Linked DNA regions of Homo sapiens: all the other regions are linked to region 1. Evidence: promoter capture Hi-C in 16 types of primary human blood cells and fetal thymus (Javierre and others, 2016). All regions are on one chromosome and are shown on one strand. The core of a region is centred on a gene start or on the middle of the fragment in contact, and the rest is flanking DNA. Distances in the headings are between cores, read along the strand shown. Region 1 holds the start of COLEC12 (collectin subfamily member 12). Region 2 overlaps USP14 (ubiquitin specific peptidase 14). Region 3 has its middle 19 kb from the start of YES1. Region 4 overlaps USP14 (ubiquitin specific peptidase 14). Region 5 overlaps THOC1 (THO complex subunit 1).

Region 1 (2,923 bases), core at 221-2,720:
CTGGGCCTGGTGGCACACGCATGTAATCCCAGCTACTCGGGAGGCCGAGGCAGGAGAATCGCTTGAACCCGGGAGGTGGAGGTTGCAGTGAGCCGAGGTCACGCCATTGGTTAGTAAACTCCGGGCTGAAAATTCATATCCTAAGCTCCCTTCAGGGATCCCCATTTGCCCTGAAAGACAAGGCTGGTGCCCCAGTGAGATCTGAAACATGCTCCAGGACCAGGACCCTGTAGTTTCATCAACTGCAGACAGTGCGGGGGAAAAAGCATTTCGGTCTTTTCATTTGTTCGTCATGTTCAAGGTGCCCCCTTATGTTAAAAAATTAAAAAAAAAAAAAAAGAAAGAAAAAAGAAATCTCCTGGAACGGAGAATCTATGAAATGTTTCAATATGTATTCATTTTGGGGCACTACCTTTTACTAGAGCAAAGAATCCCCTACTTAGAGGGAACCAATGGATTGGTTACACCGTGTTACCAAGTCCTCAGGAGGGCAAACTGAAAAGCTGCAAGCACTGCCCGGCCAGTGTTCGATTGCTTTTGGTGGACTAGTGCGTCTGAGTAGCCATCTGTAATGTCAACATGTGGCAGAAAGTTTCTCCGCACCTCCCTCGCCCCAGCTCCACTCACCACTTAGTGTATGTTTTAAAGCAATAAAGCGATGGGTCTGCTTAGAGGGGGTTCTAAAGAGAAAGATAAACACGGGCTTTATTAAGTATACAGCAGGGCAATGTGACGGGCGACCACGAAGGGAACTCAGGGAGCCTCTCAGCAGCCCGGCCTCCTTTCGTAACAAAACTGGAGTCAACCCGATCATTTTAGGGGCGCTGGGTGGAAGGCTGGCTTTTCCAGCCAAGGCAGGATGTGCTGGCTTTTTCTCTGGAGGTGTCCAAGAGCGCAGAGAGAGTGTCTAATGGTGACTTCGGATTCTGGCCACTCGGGCTCTCCCTGGGTGACAGAGAGAGTGTTCCCTGCTGCTTGGTCTCCTTCAGGCGTCAACCAGCGCACGCACTTGGAAACTCTGAACCCGGAGGACGTTCTGTACCTCTCCATGCCCCAGAGCCGTTTGGGGAAGGGCCCACCTTACCCCCCGCCACCCCCGGGGCACAGCAGCTCCCCATCCTCTCGCCCAACACTTGCTAGGTAGTTTGGGGTGTAGAAGCGACCCCAGCAGCAGCGGCACCTTAGGTGCTCGCCGAAGGTGAACGCTGGACCGCCCCGGGAAGGGCTTTGCTCCCGACTTCATCCCGACGCTGGTGCAACGGGAAAAAGAGAGAGCCCGCGCGAGTGGGGCCAGGGCGCGCAGGAGAGGGCGGGCGAGAAAGTGCCCGGCGAGGGCAGGCGCGGGCCGAGGGCGGGGCGGGCGCGGGAGGGCGCGAGAGGGGCGTGGGCGCGGCCGCTCGCTCGGCCGGGTCGGGCCAGGGGGAGGGGCGCTGGGAGAGCGAGAGCGGCGCGCGCGGCAGCCCCGAGGCAGCAGAGCGCGGAGCCGGGAGCGCGGGGAGCGCGGGCCGGCGGCGGCGAGGGAGGACGGGGGCGCAGACGGCCGGCGCGCGGCGCGGCTACCATGGGCGTGCGGTGAGCAGCCGCTCGGGACGACTTCCTCGGCTGCGCGGCGCTCGCGCGGAGCTCCCCGGCCGGCGGTGCGTCCCCACGGTCACCATGAAAGGTAGGGCGGCGGCAGCTCCGCGGGGCTCTGGGCGGGGGGAACGGGCTTCGGGGCGCGCGGGAGGCCACGGAGGTGCCTCCCGCGCGAACCTTCCCTTGGGCTGCGGGCCCGGGGAGTCGGGGCTGCCAGGGCGCCGGGTTCGTGCGCGGACACTGGGGGCGCACCCGGCTCCCGGGTCAGGCGCGGCTGGAGACCTCGAGGTTGGGGTTTTGAAGCGCGCAAGTATTCCCCTCCCCATCGCGTCTTTGCAAGTAGTTTGAAGCCCTAAGTCGTTGTTTACGGATTCCCGTTTCCAACTTTTTAATTGAAAAAACCTGCCGAGGAGAGTGGAGGCATCGCCATCCCTCCCGGTCGCTTTTCCACGCCGCAGCGCTCCCCACGCTCGCCCAGTCCTCTCTCCTCCCGCCTCTAGCCGTTTCCCGGCCCGAGCGGTCCCCGCGCTGGCGGCCGGGTGTTTTCTCCGGGACTGGGGATGTTCTCCGTGCGCCCTCGCCACATCTGGCAATGATTAGGTGCCCGAGGAGTTCAGCTGGCTCGGGAAGTGCATTTGGCATCTTTCTCCATCAGATTCACCGACTGGAAAATAGTTGCCCTCGGTTCCGCGTCCCTTCCACGTGCCCGCCTTGGGGTGTGCCCACTGGTGTTTTGGGGTGACACACCTCAGCTGGTTAGTCGCCCCCTGCGCGGTGTCCTCTGCAGGCCGGTTTATGGAAGTGTCAGATGTTATCGTACTTTAGAAAGAAGCACGAGAAGGACTGCAGGGCAGCCTTCTGTTTAGTGGAAACACGGAGATTTGTCAGCGGAATCCTGATTTATGTATGAGATAAGTAACCGCAGCGGAGGCATCAAAGAGTCGTTCAGGAATGGGCCCGCGTGGTGTTTACACAAGGCTTCGTGTGAGAGTTGCTGGTTCTGTGCTAGGATAACACAGCCCTGCGTGGGTGCGAAATGCCATCTGACCGCGGTCACCCCGCTTCCAGCCGCCACAGACCTGGCGATGCAATCGCTTTGACTTCTAGGGTTGCCGTCCGAGGGAGGCGCCCGGGAAGCCCCAAGGCGCTTGGAAAGTAACTTTTGGCTCTGGAAAGTTTTTTTTCTGAAGGGCAGCTCCCGCGGAACTAACCGGAGCGATGATATCCTACCAATTCACTCCCTTTCCAAGGGCGTTAGGTGTCCACGTCGGGAGACCTCGGGAAGGGAGGTGACTGATGGCCAGGTGAAAAGTGGTCTGCCCCAGGGAAAAAGAAACAAAAGACACGA
Region 2 (2,923 bases), core at 194-2,693, 330 kb after region 1:
GGAGGCAGAGGTTGCAGCGAGCCGAGATCGCGCCATTGCACTCTAGCCTGGGCAATAAGAGTGAGACTCTGTCTCAAAAAAAAAAAAAAAAAAAAGAGAGAAAAATCAATTGTATTTTTACATTCTAGCCATGAACACTGGAAATATTTTTTAATATTATTTTAAGCAGCGAACAAATGTTAAGTTCCAATAATTTAAGAGAAGTCATGCAAGGGCTGGGCACAGTGACTCACACCTGTTAATCCCAGCACTTTGGGAGGCCAAGGCAGGAGGATCGCTTGAGCCCTGGAGTTCAAGACCAGCCTGGGCAACATAGTGACACCCCCATCTCTACAAAAAATAATTAAAATTAATTAATTAACTGGGCATGGTAACACCCGCCTGTGGTCCCAGCTACTTGGAAGGCTGAGATGGAAGGACTGCTTGAGGCTGGGAGTTTAAAGCTGCAGCGAGCCATGACCATGCCACTGTGCTCCGGCATACGTGAGAGTGAGACCCTGTCTCAAAAAAAAAACCACTCATGCAAAACCTCTATGTTTAAAAACTACAACTCTGCTAAGAGAAAAACAGAGACCTAAATAAATAAGGAAGTACATCATATTCAGGGATTTTAATACTCAATATTGTTAAGATGTTTATTCTCCCCAAATTGAGCTACAGATTCAATGTAATCTCAAACAAAATCTCAAAGAGGAGAAAGTTGGAGAGCATAAGAACATATACTATCTTATTTCAAGACTCTTTTTTTGGAGACGGAGTCTCGCTCTGTTGCCAGGCTGGAGTGCAGTGGCACGATCTCGGCTCACTGCAATCTCCGCCTCCCAGGTTCAAGTGATTCTCCTGCCTCCTGCCTCTGCCTCCCGCCTCAGCCTCCCACCTCAGCCTCCCGAGTAGCTAGGATTACAGGCGTGCACCACCACACCCAGCTAATTTTTTTTTCAAGGCTTTTATTATAAAGCTTTAGTAATCAAAACCATTTGGTACTAGTGTAACTTTAATCTACTAGATCAATGAAACAAAAACCCAAAAACAAACCTATAACTACTTTTCAAGAAAGAGCCCAACACAAGTCAATGGGAAAAGGTAAGTATTTTCAACAGATAGTGCTGGAACAACTGGATATACACATGAAAAAAAGTCATCTGGAATGTATTTTGGTATCATAATGAGGTTACTGCATTATAATAAACGTTCATAAGATAATACTTACATTTTTTATTTTGATGTTTCCCCAATCATCATCCTGTTTCAAAGACAAACAAAAGACATTTAACCACCACTGTACAAGCTGAACACAATCTAATAATCAATTTATTTTAATGTACTTCAAAACAGAATAAAATTTATCCTATATGCAGATTTTATTTAAAATTATGGCAATTAAAAAAATTTTTTTTGGCCAGGCACAGTGGCTCACGCCTGTAATCCCAGCACTTTGGGAGGCTGAGGCAGGCAAATCACCTGCGGTCAGGAGTTCGAAACCAGCCGGACCAATATAAAGAAACTCCATCTCTACTAAAAATACAAAAAGTAGCTGAGCATGGTGGTGCACACCTGTAATTCCAGCTACTCGGGAGGCTGAGACAAGATAATTGCTTGAACCCAGGAGGCAGAGGTTACAGTGAGCCGAGATCTCACCACTGCACTCCAGCCTGGGCAACAGAACAAGGCTCCATCTCAAAAAAAAACAAAAATTTTTTTTAAACACAAGTGGTACTAAAGCCAGGGTTTCAAATAATTTGCTTCAACTGCATAAGGTAACACAATACAAAAGGCAGTAACCTGTATTTACAGCATCAAATACTAAAAAACACATAAGTATAAAAAAATACTTTTAGCAAGTACTAAAAAACACTTGACTAATGACAAATGATAGATCCTATTTTTTGGATGTTTGGAACCAGCAGAGCTAATAAATAACAAGCTTACGTGGCAAGAATGAAGAGTTAATGTCTATAACGCATCTATAAAGCAAGTATATACTTTCCTTTCAATATGTTGAATAAAAATCAAGAATTTTTTTTTTAAATGCATGATTAGTCCAGAGTAATATTTTTACTAACTACAGCTAGGCCTTTCCCCTCATAGGATAAAGTCGATTCTATATTACTCCCTTTTATAGAAGGTATCGGGTACCCAATATGCTTGTCTACCCTTCATTGGTGCCACTAATTATCTCTTTTATCTGCTTTAAAATGGAACGGTAACTTCCTAAAGGCCCTTCTCAATTTAAGGTCTATGACTGCTAAACATAATGAATGATAACTATAAATGCCCCCTAAGATCACTTACCCAAGGTCACACAAAACTGGGAAGTGAACACAGATCTGCTTGATGTATAAATCATATGCTCTTTTGGTGCCTTACTATGTTACTTAAACCTCTTTGACACTCATTTATAAAATTTCCTCATATATAAGATATGGATAACATACAGCTGAGAATTAAAGAAAATATAATAAAAGCCTGACATAAAATAAGTACTCAATAAATGGTAACCATTAGCAGTCACAGTTTCATTTAATTCGCATACTTCTATAATTCTCGACAGCATACCACTAGTACAGTGTTCAGCATAGATTAGGCTATGAAGTTCACTAAAGGCCAAAGGTTCATACTGTACCTTCGGGGGTAAACAAAGATTTTCCTCCAACGTGTGTTTTACTGCCCAGTGGGGGTAGCCTGTCTTTATCTCTAAAGTTAACTATAGATCTTTAGCATTTTATCTAACCCTTGAAGGAAGTATTTTTTAAAGCTATACTTATATTATTAAAAATAATAGAGGCCGGGTGTGGTGGCTCACGCCTGTAATCCCAGCACTTTGGGAGGCCCGAGGCAGGCATATCACTTGAGGTCAGGAGTTCGAGACCAGCGCCAACATGGTGAAACACTGTCTCTACCAAAAATACAAACATTTGTCACG
Region 3 (2,923 bases), core at 191-2,690, 330 kb before region 1:
CTCCACATGCTCCGCCTCCAGGTCCCGCTGCAGCTTCTCCTGGAGGTAATTGGCGCTGAGTTCCCTGGCGGTAGTCCAGCTGGGGCGGCAGCCCAGCGGGGACAGAACCCCAGCTCGGACCCCTGCCACGCTGCTTTGCGCCCTTACAGGAGCCACTTCCCTCACGTAAGCTTTCTTTGACTTAATGATGGCATCAAAGCACAAGGGTAGGGATGCTGGCATATTGTTAAAATTGTTCGATTTATCACTAGTTATTGTTGTTGATCTCTTCTGTGCCTCATTTATAAATTAACTTTTATCATAGGGATATGTGTGTGTCTATATCTACAAAAAACCGCAGTATCTATAGAGTTTGGTACTGTAGCGATTTCAGGCATCCACTGGGGATCTCAGAATGTATTCTTCACAGACAAGGAGGGACTACTGTATTATTATATGGAGGTTAACCACACTATTAGCAATAGAATTATAATAAAAACTTTCAAAAACATGGCGAAGCTGGTAATAATGTGCCTAACATCCTACAGCACCTCCCTATTGTCGACAGAAAGAGTCAAACTTTCTAAAATATGTGAAGAGTTTTATTCTGAGCCAAATATGAGTGACCATGGCCCATGAGACAGCCCTCAGGAGGTCCTGAGAACATGTGCCCAAGGTGGTCGGGGTGCAGCTTGGTTTTATACATTTTAGAGGGGCATGAGACATCAATCAAATACATTTAATAAATACATGGGATTGGTCCAGAAAGGTGGGACAGCTCAAAGCTGGGGCTTCCAGGCTATAGGTGAATTTAAACATTTTCTGGTTGACAATGAGTTTACCTTGTCTGAAGACCTGGGATTGGGCTGGGCGCAGTGGCTTATGCCTGTAATCCCAGCACTTTGAGAGGCTGAGGCAGGCAGATCACGAGGTCAGGAGTTCGAGACCAGCCTGACCAACACAGTGAAACCCCATCTCTACTAAAAATACAAAAATTAGCTGGGCATGGTGGCGGGCACCTGTAATCCCACCTACTTGGGAGGCTGAGGCAGGAGAATCGCTTGAACCTGAGAGATGGGGGTTGCAGTGAGCCGAGATCATGCTACTGCACTCCAGCCTGGGCAACAGAGCGAGACTGTGTCTCAAACAAACAAACAAACAAACATCCAAAGTGGCCGTCACTAAATGCTAATAAACACTAGAGGGCACAATTGAGTTGTGGAAAATTTCAGCCAATATTGCAAATGAAACAAGGTATGGACTCTAGCAAAAATTAATACACCAGAAAAATGGGTAGTGAAAATCATAAGCTTTGAAAACAATTGCTTTCTTTGTAAATCTGTTGATTAACCTTAGCCCTTTGAGATAATTGAATTAAAGTAGACTTAACACTTTAAATTTAATACCAAGCCAATACTGTATTCCAAAAATAAAGCATAGATACATTGACAAATAGGACTACTTACATCAAAAAACTAGTGGGGGTGTTCTCAGTGTTAAGAGTCAGTTTCTGTCTGAATTTTTCTTTCTTTAGATATTCCTGTCTTCTGGCAATGACGGTTTGGCCATGGAATTCACACTCATTCTAAGCTGGCCACTTGAGAAAGCTTGAAATTTCTAAGGTTTTGTTATTGTAAGAGGTGACCAGATGTTCCAAACATCAAGCTATACAGGAAGCTCTCCACCCACTCCAAATGTCATGCTGAGTTCTCAACAGACTTCCGTTTCCCGTTTCCTTTTTCCCCTCTCTCTGATTTTTTTCTTCAAAGTCTATTCAAAAGCTGCTGCCAAAACCATCTTCCTCTATTGTTGTTCTGATGACATCATTCCCTTCCCCAGCTCCCCTTGTCTTTGGTCTCATGACCACAGTTTGCCTTCATTTCCTTGGGCTGCCACTGTGCCTGCCTCTACCTCCTTTCCCCCTGATTTCCCGCTGCTTCTCACCAACTGTGACGCAGGATTATCACTGCTGATGTCCCAGTGCTGAGGTATCTATTATCTTCTAACAAAGAAGAGTATTCCCATTCCACTACCCAGACTTTCCCAGGTCTCTTCTAAACTCATTTTATTTATGTATTCATTGCTCACGAGTATACTAAGCACCTTCTGCATGTGTTCTAGGTACTAGAGGAGAGAGAGAGAGAGAGAAGAAGAAAAGACATAATCTTTTTTTTCTCTCTTTATGCCAGCTGCTCTGGCCAGCTTAAAAAAAGACAATCTTTAAGATCAAAATTGCCAGGAAGCCATTTAAGTTGGGGCTTTTGGAAACCAACTAGAACTTACTCTCCCTTAGAACCTGAAGGAATGAGTAGCAGGAGAAAATTATACAATGATACAAAATAACTATACCATTCGGGATAGTAGATTTGGGATAATTCTAATCATTTCATCACCTTGAGACAGGGTCTTGCTCTGTCACCCAGGCTGGAGTGCAGTGGTAGAATCACAGCTCACTGCAGCTTCAACCTCTCGGGCTCACGCGAGCCTCTCACCTCAGCCTCCCAAGCAGCTGGGACTACAGTCATGTACCACCACACCCTGCTAATTCTTTTTCTTGCCCAAGCTGGTCTCAAACTCTTGAGCTCAAGCAGTCCGCCTGCCTCGGCCTCCCAAAGTGCTGCAAGTACAGGCTTGAGCCACCTCGTTTGGCCTCTAGCTCAGTAATTAATCTGACACTTGGTGACTGGCATACTGGTTTGCATTTCTCATTCCTCAGTTTCCTCGCCTGTAAAATGGGGGTAGTGACATCTACCTATTCATCTTTTAAGATTGTTATACGGATCAAATGTGATAATAAAATAATTTGAAAAATATAAAGTATTATTTGGCATAACGTAATATTATATTTGTGCCACTGAAATCTAAATATGTCATGATGCAAACATACTGTATATTTTATTGATTGAGTCAACCATCATGTCTTGTTTAGTTGTTCATAGAAACT
Region 4 (2,923 bases), core at 110-2,609, 300 kb after region 1:
CTTTAAAATAAAGCAAGGTACAGCACAAAGCACTAGGTGCTTCTTCACAGTGTGAAGCAGGAACACCCAGTGATTAAAAAGTGAGATGTCCCAATATTTGTTAGCATATGCAACCATGTCAATAATGCTTTTGTCTATGAAATGAAGAGCTAGTTGAAGTTTGTTTGATTTCTGACTATACAGTTGATTTTGTTAGTCACGGTAATTATGTTCTACAAAGTCACCACAAGCACTGAATCAATGAATACTGAACCACTGCTCCTAGGGGAAATACAGGATTAGATTCCCGCCAGCCTTTGATCACAACATTTTCATCAACCAATCAATACATAACCTTGTTTTATGTGTGTTTCTGTTTAAGGACACCTTATTTCACATATTGTGTTGATTAATTAACATTGAACTCAGAGCCAACAGTGCAACGCAGGCCCAACTGAAGCTTCTCTAACAAGTATATTTTCTCAGTAAGGCACATCACAGCCTTCCCACACCTAGAAACACTAGACAGCACTCAGCCCTGTGCTTGGGGGGTCATCTTAAACAGTGAAATAACCAACAAAAAGCAGAAATTTTTTTTTAAAACAACAGTTCTAACATTCCTGCTAAAATGGTATTTGTTTACCAAGCTGAAACAAGAAGGCCAAGTACTTGTTTGACCTCAGATGGGACTGTGTGTATCGGGCAACTCAAAATGCGTATTGCTCTGCACATGTCTACAAATGACCATTAAAGCCCAGTGAATAATGACTTTGGCTTACTCGCAAACATGGAATTCACAAACAACAAGGATGGACTGAGATTGTCCTTACCAATTTAAGTCCTGTAAAAAGATACTTGACTTCCTGATTGATAAAACAGCTAAGCTGAAGTTGATTTTCCTTTCCTTTGGTGACTTCTTCTTCTTCAGATTCTGTACATTTCATGCTTTGTAAACTAAGATAAGGAATATGCCAACGGGTATTCAATTTGTTATATACTCTTGAATATAATACATTATCCTAATTCCATTAAAATTAATAGTATCATTCATTGGCATTTAAAACCTTTTAGTCTCCCAAGATTCATTTCAACATACTTAAGAATGTTCATTTGGCTACCAACAATTCTAGAAACAACAATGAGTAATAAATGTGTATTAAAAGATAAACTGCAATAAACTCTAAACTATAAGCTGGTATTTAGTATGGTCTTATAATGGTCTTAGAAGCCCAAAGGTACATAAATTGTTTCTAAGTTTTTCTAACCATGACCTAGAAGACAGTACTTTCCTGATTCATGTTTTATTAACTGGTTCAATCTCATGTATAGTTGATACACACCCTTTTATAAAATTAAAAAATTCTTTTTTTATTTTAAAAGTTATTATTAACAGTCACCTTGACATATAAGAAATTAATTCTTTATAAGGTGAATGAAAATGAGGTAGACTCTGCTAAAGATGTTCTTAGGAAAAAATAATAAATATCCTTCAAGAAATAAATTTAAAATAATTATATTAATCAAAACATAATGAATAATCCCATTATCCTTCAAGATCACTCCAATAGGTATATTTTTCCAAATTCCTAATTTCCATTATTGTATTTTTTTAGGTATAAAAACCTCTGGGCTGGGCGCGGTGGCTCACACCTGGAGGCCAAGGTGGGTAGATCAACTAAAGTCAGGAGTTCAATACCAGCCTGACCAAGAGGGTGAAACCCCATCTCTACTAAAAATACAAAAAATTAGCTGGGTATGGTGGCATGCACCTGTAATCCCAGCTACTTGGGAGGCTGAGGCAGAACTGTTTGAACCCAGGAGGTGGAGGTTGCAGTGAGTCAAGATCACACCATTGCAATCCAGCCTGGGCGACAAGAGCGAAACTCCGTCTCAAAGAAAAAAAACCTCTGAAGAATTTTTCTTCTACCCACCACCAATCAATCAGCCAATGATGCTATTTATGCCAATTCTAATAAGGTATGAGTATAGTCTATATCTTGGCTCATAAGGATACGTAGTTTCAAACTCAACACCGAAGAACTGATCGATTAAACTTTTCTTTTTAGAAGGTGTCGCTGCCGATGCAGATGAGGAGTCTGTCTGCAAAAATTAAAATAAAAATTCCAACTTTATATAAATATTAATGTAGATTTTCTTCCACACAATCCAGTTTAGTAATACATATTTTTTTAAAAATGTAGTCCCTTACAGTAAAATCCTTCAAAAAACATTACCAAAAATCAACAATGAATTAAGTTTAATAAATAATACATTAAATTTAAATGTCGTATGCAAGCTTCCAAATTCTGACTACAGATTGAGCATCTAAAGTATTTAAATACACATCTACCTATAAGATGGAACTTATTTTAAGCCTTTGAGGGGAAAAAAAATAAAAAAAAAAATCAAGGTATAACGAAAGTCTATAATCACAAATATATTTCAATTACCTCTTTAACAGAATCATCCTCTATTGCTTCCAATTTCTGTTGCAATACTCGCATCATTTGTATCCAACATTCATTAGCATCCTGTAATGTAAAAAAAGACAAAGTAAGTAATCCTGGCAGTGAATGATCTACAAAGTTCTTCCAAAATAATCACTGTCTCCTAGGCAAGAAAGTGGTTTCCTTCTTTAAAAATATTAAGCCAAATAAGACATACGATCTTCCAAAAAATAAAGCATTCTAGAATAGCTTATTCATTCAACAGACATCTGCTGAGCTCCAATTTGTGCTAAACACTGTACTAGATACTCAGCATAATAGCAGTGAATATATAAAATTCAAGTAGAGATAAGGGTTATGAAGCGAAAAAAAGCAGGATGGAAACAGTAAGTGATCAGGGGAAGGGAAGTGTGCTGTTCCAATAAGGTCATCAGGGAAAGCCTAAGGCTTTGGCCTTGGAGCCATGAGACCTGAAGGAGGTGAGGGAGCTGGTCTTG
Region 5 (2,923 bases), core at 302-2,801, 270 kb after region 1:
CCTCACTTTCAGCTGAGATTGGAATCCTGAGGGTTGGTATAGAGAAGGTGACTAACAGTTGGTTTATTCAAGGTTGCTGTTTGCTCACTAGACATGACAGAAGAAATATGGGACAAGTGTGTTGAAGTTGGCAAGAAAATGGCCGAAGAGATTAACCATGAAGTCTAGACCAGGAGTTGGCAGACTATAGCCTATAGGCCAAATCTGGCCCACCACCTGTGTTGGTTGTTTTTGGTGATTTTGGTTTTTTTTTCCCCCTTACATTTTAGATGTTTAAATACCTACATAATATCCATAATATGTCTCTTAGCCCACATAACCTATTAATAAAAATACTTACTATTTGACACTTCAGGAAAAAGTTTGCTGACCCCTTATCTAGACTAAAATAGGATTATAATAAAATGGGATGGGACTAACAGGCAGAGAATAGACGGGTCAAGGGCCTTAAAGTCTCGGTAAGATCCAAATATTAGGTATATTGGAAGCAACTGAGCGAGAGACCTGGGAAGGATAGAGGTTGTGGTGAGATAGGATTGTGAGTTGAAGACTTCAGATCTGGGGCAGCTGTGAGTGACCCCAGGTCTAGCTGTGGCCACAGTAGTGGGTAGCTGGAGCAGAGATGGGCCTGTCCGTGGAGTTAAGGGCAAGGAACTAACAGCCTGAGTGGAGACAGTCAAGTTGCCCAGGGGCTGGAGGAAGGGAAGGCTGATGGCCGGCCATTCACATTTCCAATTTGGGATAGGAGAGTTAATATAAATAACAATCAAATATATTCAATCCTTAAACGTGAGGGAAACCTGACTGGAAGGCTGATCATTAATTTTTTTTTTTAAGACCTGGAGCCACAGTGTGGAAGGGGTTGCTAGTGAATAGGGAGGCTTGTGCGTGTTAGGTAGCATTAGTAAATGGTACCAACCACGTAAAGCAGAGCCACCAGCACTTGGGACATTGAACCAAAACCAATCTTCGACGCTTCCAGCTGCCTTACTGGCGATTCATTTAGAAGAACGTGGCTTTCCTTTGTTACTGTAGTTTTTGAAGGCAGAACTAGCATGAGTTTGTGGATACAGACTTCAGCCTTCCTTCAGTGTTCCATGCACATAATCAGAATGACCTTCCTTCATCGCCGCAGGTTATTCTTACAGCTGGATGGCAGGGTCGTTGAAGAACTTCCTCATGAGTGACCTTCAAGTCCTTTCTAATCCAGATTCTGTGATAATACAAGTATGATGCAATTTTCACTAAAAGCTAAAAAAAAAAGCCCATCTAATCAGAGATGATCTTCACCTCTAATTTCTTGTTTATTGTCAAGTAATACCTCTGTTGCAGGCACTTTATAGGGCTACAAAAATGAGTGGTCCCCGTTGATATTGTGCTGTTATCCGTATCTTCTTTAGCCATTATTTCTTCATATGTGAGAAAGTAGTAGCCTCAGTTTTACTTTAAAAAAAAATTTTTTTTTTAAATTTAGAGTCTTGCTATGTTGCTCAGACTGATCTCGAACTCCTGAGCTCAAGTGATCCTCCTTCTCAGCTTCCTGAGTAGCTGGGACTATAATAGGCTTTGTGCCACCATGCCCAGCTTACTTTTTTCTATTTCTGCTTTATTTTATCCTCATGTCTGGACCATAGATAGATCATTGTTATCCACCAGCAAGAATGTGTCATGGCATAAAACAGTCAAGAAATCTAAGTGAAACCTTGACTGGGCTGTCTTTGGGCTTGTGCGGTAATGCCTCACATGCAGTGAACTCTCAACAAATGGCTTTTAAATTGAATTGGAATCTTCCATTTCTATATTAGCACATTTTGTACCTTTAGGAAAAACTTGATTTTAATGTGTTGTTTTCGTATGTGTTTGCTTGTTTCTTGAGTAGCTGATGGATTTACAACTGAGTGACAGTAACTTTCGTCGACACATCCTGTTGCAGTATCTCATTTTATTCCAATATCTCAAGGGGCAGGTCAAATTCAAAAGGTAAGATAATATGGGTAGTAAACAATTTGTAAACAGTAGCCAAGAAAAAAAAGGACTTGCTTACGATTTTTCTTATGTATGTGTCCATTTCATGTTAAGGCTGTATCCCTAAAACACATGTATTGCAGCTGATACATTGAAGGCTTTTCGATATTAGGATATTTAAGGAAAAGATGTTAAATATATCTGTCAGTGTGAGTTTTTCCTGCCCAACTCCAGGGCTTGCCAGGAGTTGTCGTCTTTATTAGCAGGTGGAGGTCTCTGCTCCAAAATTCCGTCATTCCCTTCTCACCTCCCTCAGACCTCCTCCAAAGCTGATTTGCAGACTAAGCCAGTAATACATATCTCACAAGGTGTGGAGCTCTGCAGGACATTCAAGCTAAAAGATGCAAAGAAAATTTTTAAGCAAAAAGGAGTTCATTTATTTGGGGTTTCACAAAACCTCATTAGGCTCTCTACTGTCTATCTAAATACTTCCATCCATTTCCTCCTATCCTGTCCATAACTGAAGGTGGAGCCCACTGTTACTTAACGGTATTTGTGTTAAGGACACTGAGCAATGCCGTATTAGTTGTATAATGACTTCACTACCTGCTGGGTTTGAATCCCAGGCTCGTCATTTGCTGGCTGCAGTGCAGCTCTTTCAGACTTGTAATTTTAAGGTAGTAGCACATGGTAAACACTCAAAAAATGTTATTTCTTATCCTTCTATCTATTTTGGAGGTTTGGTATAGCATAGTAGGAAGATGAGGGACTTTGAAGTGAGACGTGGGTTTGAATTAAATCTTTATGGCCTTGGGCAAATCAGTGAGACACGGTAGTCTCTGTTTAATATGTACATGTACTTGTTCCGAGAATTCAATGAATAATGTATGTAAAGTGTTCAGATCCTAGCCATCAATATTTATTGGATGTCTTTAAATCACCTAGTGCATTATGAGAG

The links. Contacts are between HindIII fragments. The CHiCAGO score rates a contact against its expected background, and 5 or more counts as called.
Region 2: a fragment that was not itself captured here is called in contact with the fragment with the promoter of COLEC12 in region 1 in 2 of 17 cell types (monocytes and M1 macrophages); the score reaches 5.7 in monocytes.
Region 3: a fragment that was not itself captured here is called in contact with the fragment with the promoter of COLEC12 in region 1 in 2 of 17 cell types (M1 macrophages and monocytes); the score reaches 6.6 in M1 macrophages.
Region 4: a fragment that was not itself captured here is called in contact with the fragment with the promoter of COLEC12 in region 1 in 4 of 17 cell types (M1 macrophages, M0 macrophages, neutrophils and 1 more); the score reaches 5.8 in M1 macrophages.
Region 5: a fragment that was not itself captured here is called in contact with the fragment with the promoter of COLEC12 in region 1 in 3 of 17 cell types (neutrophils, M1 macrophages and M2 macrophages); the score reaches 8.0 in neutrophils.

Annotation. Positions count from the first base shown.
Region 1 is chr18:499,248-502,170 of GRCh38, reverse strand. It overlaps COLEC12 (collectin subfamily member 12), which reads left to right and starts at 1,470. Exons shown (of 10, transcript NM_130386.3): 1 at 1,470-1,663. The coding sequence starts at 1,657. The HindIII fragment of the contact is 13,067 bases long and covers 1-2,923 here.
Region 2 is chr18:165,107-168,029 of GRCh38, reverse strand. It overlaps USP14 (ubiquitin specific peptidase 14), which reads right to left. Exons shown (of 16, transcript NM_005151.4): 3 at 1,211-1,243. Among named protein-coding and RNA genes, the nearest start is that of USP14, 8.0 kb to the right of the region's middle. The HindIII fragment of the contact is 966 bases long and covers 961-1,926 here.
Region 3 is chr18:829,380-832,302 of GRCh38, reverse strand. It overlaps the pseudogene BOLA2P1. Among named protein-coding and RNA genes, the nearest start is that of YES1, 19 kb to the right of the region's middle. RefSeq lists an enhancer at 1,413-1,979. The HindIII fragment of the contact is 297 bases long and covers 1,292-1,588 here.
Region 4 is chr18:197,203-200,125 of GRCh38, reverse strand. USP14 (ubiquitin specific peptidase 14) reads right to left here. Exons shown (of 16, transcript NM_005151.4): 8 at 2,430-2,510; 9 at 1,994-2,079; 10 at 810-924. Among named protein-coding and RNA genes, the nearest start is that of USP14, 40 kb to the right of the region's middle. The HindIII fragment of the contact is 1,836 bases long and covers 442-2,277 here.
Region 5 is chr18:225,858-228,780 of GRCh38, reverse strand. It overlaps THOC1 (THO complex subunit 1), which reads left to right. Exons shown (of 21, transcript NM_005131.3): 12 at 1,880-1,980. Among named protein-coding and RNA genes, the nearest start is that of THOC1, 41 kb to the left of the region's middle. The HindIII fragment of the contact is 4,135 bases long and covers 1-2,923 here.